Regions from separate parts of the Homo sapiens genome. Here region 2 is linked to region 1. Evidence: promoter capture Hi-C in 16 types of primary human blood cells and fetal thymus (Javierre and others, 2016). All regions are on one chromosome and are shown on one strand. The core of a region is centred on a gene start or on the middle of the fragment in contact, and the rest is flanking DNA. Distances in the headings are between cores, read along the strand shown.

The links. The method cuts DNA at HindIII sites, captures the fragments that hold promoters and counts their contacts. A CHiCAGO score of 5 or more calls a contact.
Region 2: a fragment that was not itself captured here is called in contact with the fragment with the promoter of KLK2 in region 1 in 1 of 17 cell types (M2 macrophages); the score reaches 5.4 in M2 macrophages.

Annotation. Positions count from the first base shown.
Region 1 is chr19:50,869,833-50,876,758 of GRCh38, reverse strand. It overlaps KLK2 (kallikrein related peptidase 2), which reads right to left and starts at 3,320. Exons shown (of 5, transcript NM_005551.5): 1 at 3,240-3,320; 2 at 1,879-2,038; 3 at 1-287. The coding sequence starts at 3,285. RefSeq lists a cis regulatory region at 3,482-3,496, enhancers at 3,482-3,496, 5,972-6,266, 6,907-6,926, 6,875-6,926, 6,708-6,926 and promoters at 3,295-3,648, 3,295-3,920, 3,295-6,926. The HindIII fragment of the contact is 10,018 bases long and covers 1-6,926 here.
Region 2 is chr19:51,051,897-51,058,822 of GRCh38, reverse strand. It overlaps KLK13 (kallikrein related peptidase 13), which reads left to right. Exons shown (of 5, transcript NM_015596.3): 4 at 149-285; 5 at 2,048-3,197. The coding sequence ends at 2,236. Among named protein-coding and RNA genes, the nearest start is that of KLK13, 9.7 kb to the left of the region's middle. The HindIII fragment of the contact is 5,539 bases long and covers 364-5,902 here.

The DNA of each region.
Region 1 (6,926 bases), core at 2,071-4,570:
ACTCCTCTGGTTCGATGCTGCCCCAGCCTGAGGCGTAGCAGGTGGTCCCCAGTGCTGGCTCCTGGGTGGGCAGGCCCAGGACCTTCACAACATCTGTGATCTTGGCAGGCTCTGACAGGCGGAGCAGCATGAGGTCATGGCTGGAGTCTTCATCTGGTCTAAGGCTTTGATGCTTCAGAAGGCTCATATTGTAGAGCGGGTGTGGGAAGCTGTGGCTGACAGGGACCCTCTGGCCTGTGTCTTCAGGCTCAAACAGGTTGTGCCGACCCAGCCAGACCTGGCTATTCCTGGGGAGGAAGGGGGTGGATGCATGAGGAGAGAGAAAATGGGGAAAGGTAGATGGGGCAGGGGAGGATAAGGGAGACTCCAAAGGGAAGAAAAAGAAACAGTGAGAAAAGCACAGGGGTCGGGGAGATATAGTCGTGGTGAAATACAGACAGTGAGTTAGAAAACAGGAGTGTGATCATGTGAGAGGCAGAGACAGAAACTGAAAGAAACGAAGTGGAAAAGAGAGAGCATAAAATGGCAGAGGAATGACAAAAACAGAAGGGAGAACAGTGAGAATTAGGATGAGCAAAGAAGAGACAGAGACAGCAAGAAATAGACATGGGGAAGAGGAAGGGAGAAAGAACAGAACCAGGAAGGGAGTGAGAAATAGACAAATGAGAAAAGGATGCGGGAAGTCAGAGAGAGAAGGAGAAACAGCAGAGAGGAAGCCAGGGGTGATACAGTGTGGGAGAGAAAAAGGAGGGAGGCCACGGGGGCATCTGAGGAGTGTGGAGTAGCAGGGGGAGGAGGAGAGGCATGAGGGTGGCTCACCTGCAGCTGGGGCTGGAGTGAGGGCTCTGTAGTGGCGGGTGGCCCGGCCCACAGCTCAGGGCCACGTCCCCCTTTCTCTCTCCAGCTCCCTTCCCCTCCTTTCGATTTTTTTTGTTGTTTGTTTGTTTGTTTGTTTTTTCTGAGATGGAGTCTTGCTCTGTCACCCAGGCTGGAGTGCAGTGGCACGATCTCGGCTCACTGCAACCTCTCCCTCCCGGGTTCAAGCGATTCTCCTGCCTCAGCCTCCCTAGTAATTGGGATTACAGGCGCGCAGCACCACGCCTGGCTACTTTTTGTATTTTTAGTAGAGACGGGGTTTTGCCATGTTGGCCAGGCTGGTTTCAAACTCCTGACCTCAGATGATCCACCCACCTCGGCCTCCCAAAGTGCTGGGATTACAGGCGTGGGCCACCGTGCCCGGCCACCTTCCCCTCCTTTCTTGTTTCCCCTTCTCCTTCCTCCCTCCTCAATTGTGCACCCAGCTACAGCTGAAACCAGCCCTCCCTGTGTCTCCCCAGGGTGGAGGGATGTCCTGCAGAGAGTGCTGTGCAATGACAGGCACCCCCTCACATGCACACACATTGAGCTTAAAGTCCTTCCTTTTTCTGGGTGCTCCCCACCCACCCTCACGGGGTGTGTTCAGTAGTGATGAGGAAGGGCTGAGGCAGAGACCCAGAGAGAAAGACAGGCAAAGAGATGCAGGGTGAGACACACGGTGACAGAGATGGCCACAGAGAGACCCAGAGACAGAGACGGGGGAGACACAGACACAGGGAGACAGAAAAGAGAGAGGGACATAGAGACCAAAACACAGTCATACAGACACAACCAGAGCCAGATACCAAGAGACACAGCGAGATCAGACACAGAGAGAAACCCAGGCAGCCATGGGGAGAGTGGTCCAGCCCCAGCTCTGCCTCCGGGTGCGACCTGGGCCAGGACCTTCCCTCTCTCCTTTAGTCTGAAGCCTCACCTGAGAAGTGACCCTGGGGGAAGCATCCCGCTGTTATTCCTGTGGGACACAGCCATTCCCTCCCCAGATCCCAGGGTCCTACTTACTTCTTTAGGCAATGGGCAGCTGTGAGCACCCACTGGGGGTGCACCAGGACACCCCCACAGTGTGCCCATCCATGACTGTACACAGCCACCTGCCAGGGTTGGGAATGCTTCTCACACTCCCAGCCTCCCACAATCCGAGACTGGATGAGGGGCACGGCACCTGCGGAGGGGGTGCTGGGTCAGGGGGATCAGACCCAAAAGAATTGGATAGGGGAGGGAGCTGAGCTGTGGGTTTGAAGAGACATGGGGGCAGAGGACCAGGACTGGGAGTCCAGGACACAAGCAAGGGGTCCTGGGAGGGCTGGCAATTCTGTAGCTATTCCCTGCGTTAGCGGGTTGGTGGCTGGACCAGGTCGGGAGGCTTCATGCTCTGAGAACGGAGCTGACCCCAGAGATCAGAGTAGGGGACATGGGAAACATCTGAAGCAGGCATCGGGTTGGGGGTTGGGTCATTTGGAGTGATTTGGGGTCTTACACTGGGAGAAGGGACACTGTGGTGGCAGCTGTGGGTTCTAAGAGAATAAGAGGTTCCAGAAACCAAGGATAAGTGCCCAGTGGAGAGGTTTAGTTGCTGGGAGAGGAAGGTTTTGGATGGTTTACCATGTCCAAGGTTAAGCAAACAGTTCTGCCTGAGTTGTTTCTTGCTTTGTTTTGTTTTGTTTTGTTTTTGAGGTTTTGAAAAGGGTGCGGATTTAGGGAATCAGAGAACTGGCCGTTGTGGTTGGGGGTGCTCGTGTTTTTCCCATGGAAAAAGCTAGCCATTGAATGACGGGTCTGGGGCAAAGAGTCAGGGAAGGAGGAGTTCTGAAAGTCCCAGTGCCAGACTCAGGGTGGGAGGCAGCATTTGTTGTCTCAGGCCAGATAGCCTCGGGGGGAAGAAGGAAGTGTCTGGTGGAATCTGGGTTTCCTGGGACAGGGTTGGGGAGCCAGGTGTCAAGGTCCAGGGGACAGGGTTGAATGCTCACAGCTGAATAGGAAAAGTCAGTAGACTGTGGTAGGACTGAGGGGCTCAGGAGGCAGCCCAGTGATAGGGTCCAAGGAACCAGTGGCATGGAGAGAGGTCCTTGAAAGGTTTTGAACCCCATAAAGAGAAACACAGAGATGCCCAGGAACTTGCTCTTTAGTAAAGCAGCTGGGAGCAGGGATTTGGCTGGGCAATGGAGAGAAAGGTCTGAGGTAAGTGGGAGGGAGCGGGGACCTAGTGTGGGCATGAGGACTATTGCAATGTGGAAGAGTCAGGGGCACATTGTCTGGGCTGAACTGTGGGCTGAAGGGACGAGGCTGGGGCACTGGGTGGGAGGAAAAGGGCTTCAGCATAAGAGTCAGAACCCGCCCCCCTTCCTTTATCCCCCCAATCTCACCAGTGCACCCCACAGACAAGGCGATGGAGAGAACCAGGTCCCACATGCTGACACAGGTGTCCACGGCCAGGTGGTGAGTTTGGGGCTGGGGGGCCTCCCTGAGGAGCCCTATAAAGCCTTCATTCTCCAGGACCCCGCCCTTGCCCTGTTGGCACCTAGATGCTGACCAAGGCCCTCCCCATGCTGCTGGAGGCTGGACAACCCCCTCCCACACCCAGAGCTGTGGAAGGGGAGGGAGAGCCAGCACTTGCTGTTCCACACATACTAGATCAGTCTGGAGGCATTCCCACGGTGTGAGGTCAGATTGGGCAGGGCCTATGGATCATGGAGATGTGATCTAGGGAACAAAGCCAGAGAAGGCAGGCTCAGGATGAACAGCAACAGGGGTTGGGATGATCACTGATTCTTTTTTAAAAAAATTCTGAGACAGTCTCACTCTGTTTCCCAGGCTGGAGTGCAGCGGCGTGATCGCAGCTCCCTGTAGCCTTGAACTCCCAGACTCAACCGATTCTCCTGTCTCAGCCTCCAGGATAGCTGAGACCACAAGCATGCACCACCACATCCAGCTAATTTTTAATTTTTTTGTAGAGAGAGGGTCTGGCTATGTTGCCTAGGCTGGTCTCCAACTCCTGGGCTCAAGCCATCCTCCCACTTCGGTCTCCCAAAGTGATGAGATTACAGGCGTGAGCCACCACGGCCAGCCCCAATCATTGATTTTCAATACAAAGTCTCATGTGCCTAAGTCCCAAGTACTTCCTTTGCACCCCAAACCTAATATGCCCTGAAATATCAGAATGATCGGATTGTGAGACTTCCTGGTCCCTATACCCGTCTGAGCCCAGAAGCTGGACCTCCAACTTACCATGTTCCTGAAATAGAAGCGTTGGCATTCAGTACTCTCTGATTCTTGCACTTCCACACTCAGAAAATGGTTCCCCACATACATTTCTCCCTCATCATAAAACCTTGTGATACCACATATTGTCCAATCCAGAAATATGACTCTCCCAGACCAAGTTCCCTATTATTTCAAAATCCAATGTCCACTAAACAATATGGGGTTCCGGTGGCTCCTCACTCCTCATTCTCCATGCCTGTACAACGTACAGGTACAGCGGGGATTCCTGTTGACCTGCCCTCCTAGGTCAGAATTGTCCTCATGCAAAATCCAATGCCTCCTTCTCACTGAAATGTCTAGCTATCAGGAGCCAGGTTTATACACTCCAAGATTAAGCTGCAAGCCAGGCACGGTGAGTGGCTCATGCCAGCAATCCCAGTGCTTTGGGAGTCCAAGGCTGAAGAATCACTTGAAGTCAGAAGTTCAAGATCAGCCAGGGCAACAAAGTGAGACCCTTTCTCTACAAAAAAAAAAAAAAAATTTAATTAGCCAGGTGTGGTGGCAAGCACCTGTAGCCCCATCTACTCAGGAGGCTGAAGCAGGAGGATCCCTTAAGTCCAGGAGGTCAAGGGTTCAGTGAGCTATGATCACACCACTGCGCTCCAGCCTGAGTGACAGAGCAAAAGACCCAGACTGTGTCTCAAAAAAAAAAAAAAAAAAAAAAAGAATTAGGGTGGCATTGAGAAATCTCATTTTGGTGTCTCAGAAAAGAATCAAGAATAAGAGTCCTGGTGTTAACTCTTATTATAAGAGTCCACTGTTAACTCTATAAGATTTCTTTGATTTTGAAAAAAAAAATGTGATTTCATCTGTTCAATAAAACCAGAGCAGCTTACGCTGATCCAGACCCAGCTGTGTCTCAAGAATTTGACAAAATCTTCCCCCATTTCCAGCTGAATGACCAGATCAATTCCAAGTACAGTGAAGGAGACAGAAGTGGACATAGATAATCACAATTCAAGACCAGGATAGAGGGATATTCACAGCCAGTGGCCTGATTTCCCCCACACAACCACTCGTTCCCTGGAATGACCGTCTGAAAGGAAATTTGCCTCAGCTTGAATGAGAACCACCTGAATCCAGTGTCCCAAGCATATCCTCATCCCCATGATAACCTCAACCAAAACCTGACCCAAACCAATTTAACACAGCCCAATCCAACCACATCACCCACAAGCCCAACCCATCAACCCAACACAACTTAATCTAATTCAAGACAACCCTAATAGCCTCCTTCATTTAAAGATCAAACCAAACTAATGCACATCCTCGCATGCAATAGCCAGCTCCATGTATTCTATCTCCAAAACTAAACCTACTTCATCCCCAATTCAATCCCCACACCCTTCCCAGCCAACATAAAAACAAACCTATTTCCATCCCAAAGCCATGCCATCCCAAACCACCTTTAAATTGCCAATCCCCAAACTCATCCGAAGCAGAATTTTACCCCATCTGTAACTCAACTCCAACCTGACCCTCCATTCTAACTGGTCTTCATACTCCGTTTTCAATGCTATATCCAGCACTTTATCTGGCCAAAGGAGATCAAACACAACCACATCCCACTTCTCGAGCCAGTCCACAGCCTCCTCCCCACCCGTCATGGCCCCCTCTGGGCTCTGACCACACAGGAGTCCGTGCCTTCACCCGCTCTTCCTGCACACACCATGGTGTTCATCAGGGCCCTGGGTAGTCCCTGTTACAAGATGTGGTACAGATGAAGCTGATGCTGGCACAGTGCCTCGTATCTGGGAGACTCACTTGGGAGGACAGTGGAGTGGGGCAAACCCGTAAGTTCAGGCTCCTGTGCCCTCCACCCAGAAGTCCTTGAGATTTCATGGACAGCGACATATGGCCATTCTCTAGCACCTTTCAGTCCTGGTTTCCTGTGGTTCTAGGATCTTTATCGGACACCAGGCCCCGGCCTGGCACCACGCAGGCCACATCCACCAGGGGACGCACGTCCACAGCTCCATGGTTGGGACGTGACGGGAGAGGCGCGCTGCAGGGATAGTCGCAGCTACATGACGTCATGGCGCCGGCCTCGCCCGCATAGTGCAGATGCTGAATGATGAGTGGATGATGCCCCAGGCCTCGGGACATGGCACATGTGCAGATTATACTCGCGCAGGCGCACTCTTGTGGAACTAGAAGAGTAGGTGATTACCCTCAAGTGGAGTAAGGAGTAGATGGAAAGATCAAAGCATGGGCAACTCTCAGTCCTCTGACCCTTTGAGAATCAGGAGATTCCATTACCTTCACACCAAACCCTGGAGCCAATGGTTCCAGTCCTTGCTTCCCAGGGACCCACCAAGGAGTCTCAAGCTAACAAACCCCTGCAACTCAACCCCTCACAATTTCAGCCCCTTCTTCCCGAGGATACGGGATTCTTAGACCTCTCAGGCCATTCCCACGTCAGTACCTCGGAAGCTGGGACCTTACCAGTCTCCTCCCTTGGGGATTTAAGAGTTCAGAACCCACATTCCTCCTCTCCAAGGACATTCACCTCCAGCCTCTTCCTCCTTCGGAACCAAGGAGTATGGGCCCCCTCTGCACTCAAGCCCAGAAGTTCTGATCCCCACCCATGTCCCCTCGAAATTCTGAGCACTCCCTTATTCTGGGGTTGGCAGTGGGGCACTGCCAAACATGGTGGGGAACTGGACCTAGAAATCTTGGTTAGGCACAGTGAAGCCAGATGTGGTAGACACACTAATGATGGGATGTTAAGACTGTCCTGCAGACAAGAGTGGAAGGCTCTGGGTGAACAGTGTTGGGAGACAATTTTC
Region 2 (6,926 bases), core at 1,884-4,383, 180 kb before region 1:
ACCCAGATAGGTGCTCATCTCTTCTCCCATCTTTCTCTTCCCATCTCAATTTTCTATCTACTCTTTACCCATTCAACTCGCCTATTTCACCTTCATCCCATATCCTATCCAGGTCGGATACCTTAGACCTTCTCTTTCTTCTCCCCAGTGAATTACCCCAAAACTCTACAATGTGCCAACATCCAACTTCGCTCAGATGAGGAGTGTCGTCAAGTCTACCCAGGAAAGATCACTGACAACATGTTGTGTGCCGGCACAAAAGAGGGTGGCAAAGACTCCTGTGAGGTGAGGCCGGGAGGCTGGTGGGTGCCTTGGACAGGATAGAAAGCCAGAATGGAAGTGACAGATGCTGGGGAAAAAGCTTTGTTTCCAGCCTTAGGGGAACCAATCTTTATAAGATACAATGTCCCCTCACATAGGAGGTCAAGACAAAAAGGGGTACCCAGGGATGGCAGGAATAATTCATCATAAGCCCCAGCTTTGACTGAGTGGCTGCCAAGATCCCTGTGTTGAGATGCATAAAGGTTGGTATTCTTTCACTTGTGAGTGATAGACAACCAACTCAAACTGGCTTAAACAAAATGCAGGCTTTTGTAACTGAAAATCCAGGTTGTCTGGCTTTAGGCACAGATGGATCCAGGTATGCAAATTGTGTGTTTGGAATTCTGTCTTTCTTTTAACTCTCAGCTCTTCTTTATTCTGTTTTGGCTTCATTCTCGGTTAGATTCTTCCCATGACAAGATGGCCCCAGCAGCTTTGAGCTTACATCCTACCCTCTAGGCAACCCTATTAGAAAGAGAACCTCTCTTTTCCAATAGTTCACACAAAAGTCTTAAGCATGATTCTCACTAGGCTGACCTAAGTCATGTGTCTTGAGCCATCACTCCACCAGAGCTGTGGGATTCTCTGATGGGCCAAGCCTGAGTCACATAGTTAACTGTGGGTGCTGGAGAGGGGCAGGGACAAACTGCATGGATTGGAAGTGGAGAAGGGCAGTTCCCCAAATGAAAAAATCAGGAGAGGCTGTTACCAAAATAAGGGGAAATGGCCAAGTACAGTAGTTCATGCCTGTAATCCCAGCACTTTGGGAGGCTGAGGTGAGAGGATTACTTGAGCCCAGGAGTTTGAGACCAGCCTGGGCAACATAGTGAGACTCTGTCTCTACAAAAAGAAAAAAAAGTTTTTAAATTAGCCAGGTGTGGTGGAGTACAACTGCAGTCCTAGTTACTCGGGAGGCTGAGGCAGAAGGACTATTTGAACCCAGGAGTTCAAGGCTGCAGTGAGGTATGATCATGCCACTGCACTCCAGCCTGGGTGATAGAGCAAGGCCCTGTCTCTAAAACAAAAAGAAATAAATAGAGCAAGACACTGTCTCTAATAAATAAATAAATAAAAATTTAAAAATGAATGTTTAATTTTTTAAAAATAAGAGGAAATGGATACTACATGAGCAAAAAATAGCCTTCATCAATAAAGAAGTTGAGATTGGATTCAGTGAGAAAGAGTATGATACTATATTAATGATATGTGCCTTGATCGATTAGTGATGTCTGCCTTGGGCCCAGGAAGAGAAATAGACTTACACGTGTGTTGCATACCCTGCCCAGATATGAATGGGTTCACTCAATAGTGAGAGACACAAATGAGCCTTAAATAGGAGCAGGGTCAGCTGGTGTGGGGCAGGGGGTGATTTAGTACCAGGGAAACAAAAATGGGTATGAAGTAAGTTGTTACCATTTTAATGAAACTGAGGAACAGAGAAAAACACAGAAATTTCTCTGTGTCTCTCTTTCTCTGGGCCTATCTCTGTCTTTCTGTCCCTATTTCTGTCTCTTGCTGTCTGTCCCTCTGTGTTTGTCTTCTTGTCTGTTTCTCACTGTCTTCATTGCTTTCTCTCACACTGTGTGTGTCTGACTCTGCCTCTCTGAGTCTCCTTCTCTGTGTGTGTCTCTCTCCATCTTTCACTCTCTCCCCACACCTCCCTGTCCCTGCCTTGTTTAGCCCCAGCAAGGACCCACCTCTCTCTCTCTTTCTTTCCCCAACTCAGGGTGACTCTGGGGGCCCCCTGGTCTGTAACAGAACACTGTATGGCATCGTCTCCTGGGGAGACTTCCCATGTGGGCAACCTGACCGGCCTGGTGTCTACACCCGTGTCTCAAGATACGTCCTGTGGATCCGTGAAACAATCCGAAAATATGAAACCCAGCAGCAAAAATGGTTGAAGGGCCCACAATAAAAGTTGAGAAATGTACCGGCTTCCATCCTGTCACCATGACTTCCTCACATGGTCTGCTTAGCCCTTCTCTGCTCCTTATTCCCAGTGTTCCATTTGAACCAGTGATCCATGTCCTGAAAAATGCTCAATCTCAGCTAACATTCCATGTTTCAGAAGCATTCAGGCACTGCCAGGCTTGCAGTCTCCCAGATGTTGCATCCCTGAAACATCTCAACAACCTGAATGTCCCAACCCAGACAATGGCCCAGGTCTCTCAACTTCATCAGTGTGGCTTCTATGAGCCCAGATCACCACCTGAACGTTCTGTCTGTGGCACATTCTTAAATATTTCCATCAGCCCATCTCAACAATATATGTCCTATAAATGGACCATCCTTGACAACATCCTCTAACTCTTCAAGTATTTATTCAATGCCAGTATCCTAGACCTTCTATTTTTTGCACTCAAGAAGGCTCTAGACTCCCATGATAGTTCATCCTGAAAATATTCTCTTATGCCCACAATCTTCTGCCCTGACAACATTCTGTGTACCTCTGTGACTCACCACAGCTAACATTGGATCCTCAGAATATTTCATTCTCACACTGTTATGGGTGTCTCAGAAGTCCCAACCCAACCTACATCCCACATTCTTCCAATACCCCACCTCTGCCAACATTCCCTCTCTGAATCAATGGCACCCTAGTCTCTAGAGTTATAGGGTTCAGTATACCAAAGGGTCTTCTTGCCTGAACTTTATTGTCTACCAAATATTCCGTCTTGTATCCCCTCCATGAACATCCTTGGTCAGTGTCCCTTGCTGTTACATCTTTGTGCATGACCCTAAAATGTAGTGCAAATCCTTGCTTTGGACAAGTTATAAAACTCACAGTCTCTGTGCTTTCTCATCTGTAAAATGGGTTCATAATTTTTTTTAATTGTAACATTATTACAAGAATAAATGTCAAGCATTTATCACTATTATTATTTGCATGGTTCCCATAAAATATTACCTTAGAATGTTAATAACAGCCCTTCGAATTTGCAGAGTGTCCAAAAAAAGTGTTGCACTGATTTATTTTCCTCAGGAGACATTTCTTCAGTGTTGACTATGTGCAAGCACTCTCCTGGGTGTTGTTAAATATAGTTTATTTACTCAACAAATATTTGTACCTATCAAGAGCCAGGCACTGTTGCAGAGACAAGTGATAACCAATGAGTTAAACAGATAAAAACTTCTGCCCTTGTAGAACTTACATTCTTTTCAAGAAGTCTCCATAACAATGAATAAAGAAATAGGCTGTCAGGTGGTGCTGCAAGCCATAGCAAGAAATGAAACAAGGGCCATATGTGGTAGCTCATGCCTGTAATACCAACACTGGGAGGCCAAGGTGGGAGGATCGCTTGACACCAGGAGTTCAAGACCAGCCTGGACAACATAGCAAGATCCCATCTCTACAAAAAAGTTTAAAAAATTAGCTGGACATGGTGGCACAAGTCTGTAGTCCCAGCTAATCAGAAGGCTGAGGCAGGATGATTGCATGAGCCCAGGAGTTTGAGGCTGCAGTGAGCTGTGATTGTGCCAGTACACTCAAGCCTGGGTGACAGAGCAAGACCCTGTGAAGAAGAAGGAGAAGGAGAAGGGGAAGGGGAAGGGGAAGGAGAGCAAGAGGAAGAGGAAGAGGTAGAAGAAAGGATTAAGAATTGGGAATGTAGGGTTGTATATGTGGAAGGGGTGGCATTGCAATTTAAACAGCATGGTCAGGGAAGAGGACCTAACTGAGATGGTAACATTTAAAGAAAGACCGAAAGGATGAAGGGAAGGAGCAAAGCACATATCTGAGGAGCAGCTGCTGGAGCAGGGGATACAGCTAGTGCAAAGGCCCTGAGGCAGGAGCCTGTTTGGTGTGTCTGAAGATCAGTGAAAAGGTTGGTGTGGCTGGAGCTGAGTGAGCAAGGAGGAGAGGGTGGGAGGTGAGGGCAGAGAATGAACGGAGCAGACTGCATTGGGTCCTGTGGGGCACGACGAGGACTTTGTTTTCCTCTGAGGGAGCCAGGAGCTATGAGAGGGCTCTGAGCAGAGGAGGGACTTGAACTGATTTCAATGTGCGCAGGATTCCTCTGGCTACTCCATGGGGAACAGACTCAGGGGGCCCAGCGAGGAAGGGACTGCATTAGCCCAGGCAAAAGGTGACGGTTCCTGGACCAAGGTGATGGCCGTAGAGGAGGCGAGAGGTCAGATTCTGGATCTGTTTGATGGGACTGTTGGACCATATCTGCCAACATCAGATGGGGGAATGTGAGAAAAAGAGAAGAGTCGAAGATGACTCCAGCAATTTGGCCTGAGCAACAGGAAGGATGGAGCTTTCATTTACAAAAATGCGAGAAACTGAGAGGAACATGTTTTAGGGCAGAGATGAGGAAATTTTGTCTTGAACTGTTTATTAGACACTCAAGTGGAAATAAACTGTTCTCTGAGAATTTATAGAAAATAAACAACTATGGCCAGGCATGGAGGCTCACACCTGTAGTCCCAGCACTTTGGGAAGCTGAGGCGGGCGGATCACTTGGGGTCAGGAGTCAACACCAGCCTGGCCAACATGGTGAAACCCCGTCTCTACTAAAAATACAAAAATTAGCTGGTGGTGGCAGGCGCCTGTAATCCCAGCTACTCAGAGGCTGAAGCAGGAGAATCACTTGAACCCGGGAGGCGGAGGCTGCAGTGAGCCAAGATTGCGCCACTGCATTCTAGCCTGGGTGACAAACTGAAACCCTGTCTCAAAAAGAAAGAAAAGAAACAACTACACAAACTAAATAACTGCAGATTGTGATGATTTCTGTGTGATGATAATAACAAATGCAATCATTTCCATGAAGGATATAAGCAAGGATTTGTGTTAGAGAATAAAGGAGGAGGCTGTTTTGAATAGGGTGATCAAGAAGGGCTTCTCGGAGAAGGTGGCATGTGGCCAAAGGGTTAAAGGGAGCCAGTTTAGCAAAGAATGGGGGAAATACCTCTGAAAAAGGAAACCACTGGGCCAACGTCCTTGAGTTTAGCCTATTCCAGGATCTGAGGGCAGGCCAGCATGACTGTACAGTAATGATGAACGAGTGACTGGGTAGGGAATGAGACTGGAGGATTTGGCTGGAGCCAAATATTCGGAATCTTTTTAGCTGTAGTCAGGGAGGTGGTCTTTCTCCCATTGTAGTGGGGGAGCTCCTGGAGAGTGTCAACAGGGGAGGAATATCTGAAATCGGATTATCACTCTGGTTGCTGGGTTACTGGTGGAGACAAGGTACCAGGAGGGAGTATTGGAAGCCAGGAGATGAACCTGAAGCCTACTGCAGTAATCAGTGGGTAAGATGATGGCTCAGCCAACAGAGATGAAGATGGATTAGAATGAGCGTTTTGCAGTCACACTGAGGAAACTCGGCAATACAATCAATCGTATTATTCACAGTAGTTACTTACGTTCTATAAAGTCACCTCTAACACTGAATTAGCAACTATTAAAGCATTGCTTCTAGGGGGGAAATATAGGTTCCTTCGAGCCTCTGGTCACAATCTTTTTGTCACCTGATCAATATATAACCTTGTTTTAGGTGTGTTTCTCTTTAAAGACAGCTTAATATACATGCATTGAACTCACAGCCGATGGCGATGTAACTCATGCCTGAATGAAGCTTCTCTAACATGTGTATTTTCTTTTTAAATTTTTCAAAATTTATTTTATTCATTTTATTTTTTTGAGACAGGATCTTGCTCTGTTGCCCATGCTGGAGTACAGTGGTGCAATCGTAGCTCAGTGCAGCTCTGAACTCCTAGGCTCAAGTGATCCTCCCGCCTTAGCTCCTGAGTTGCTGGGACTACAGGCGTATACCACCATGCCCAGCTAATTTTCTTTTTTATTTTTGTAGAGATGGGGTCTCACTCTCTTGCCCAGACTGGTCTCAAACTCCTGGACTCAAGTGATCCTCCCACCTTGGCCTCCCAGTGTATTGGGATTACAGGCATGAGCCACTGCACCCAGCTTTGTGTGTTTTCCCATAAGGTACATCACAGCCTTCCTGCACTTAGGATGCTAGACGCACTTTACCACTGTCCTGAGGGGGCATTTTAAACAGCGAAATCAACAAAAATGTGCAAAACGTGGCACTAACTAGACCACAAAAAGGACACTTGTTTACAGAATGAGAGCTGAAATAAGGGACAGCATCGCCTTAATCGACCTCAGCTGGGAGCATGCACCTCAGGCAATTCAAATTGTTCACCACTCTGCATATTTGCAAACAGCCGCAAAAGTCCCAAGAGTATTGGTTTGGGGGCTACCCACAGATTTTATCAAGCAGGTAAATTTGAAAATACAAATTTCATGAATAATGAGGATCAACTGTGTCTGTGGGGGTGAGGGTGAATGTTGAGGATGATTCCTGCGTGATTCCTGGTTATTTCAGGGGAGACTATAGTTTAGTGTTCAAAAACACAAAGGGTGGAGTCTGAAAGATCTGGTTTTGCCACTTTATCTTTTGGGAACCTCAGTTCTTTAATCTGGTAATAACAGGCCTTACTGCTCAGGGCTGTTGGGAGGACAGAGTGAAAGATTGGCATTTAAAGGCTCTGCACACAGCAACTTCTGAATCACCGATCCTGGTCAATGGAGAAGCAGCATGACACAGTAGCTACGGAACACAGTTTCAGGGGCCAGGCTG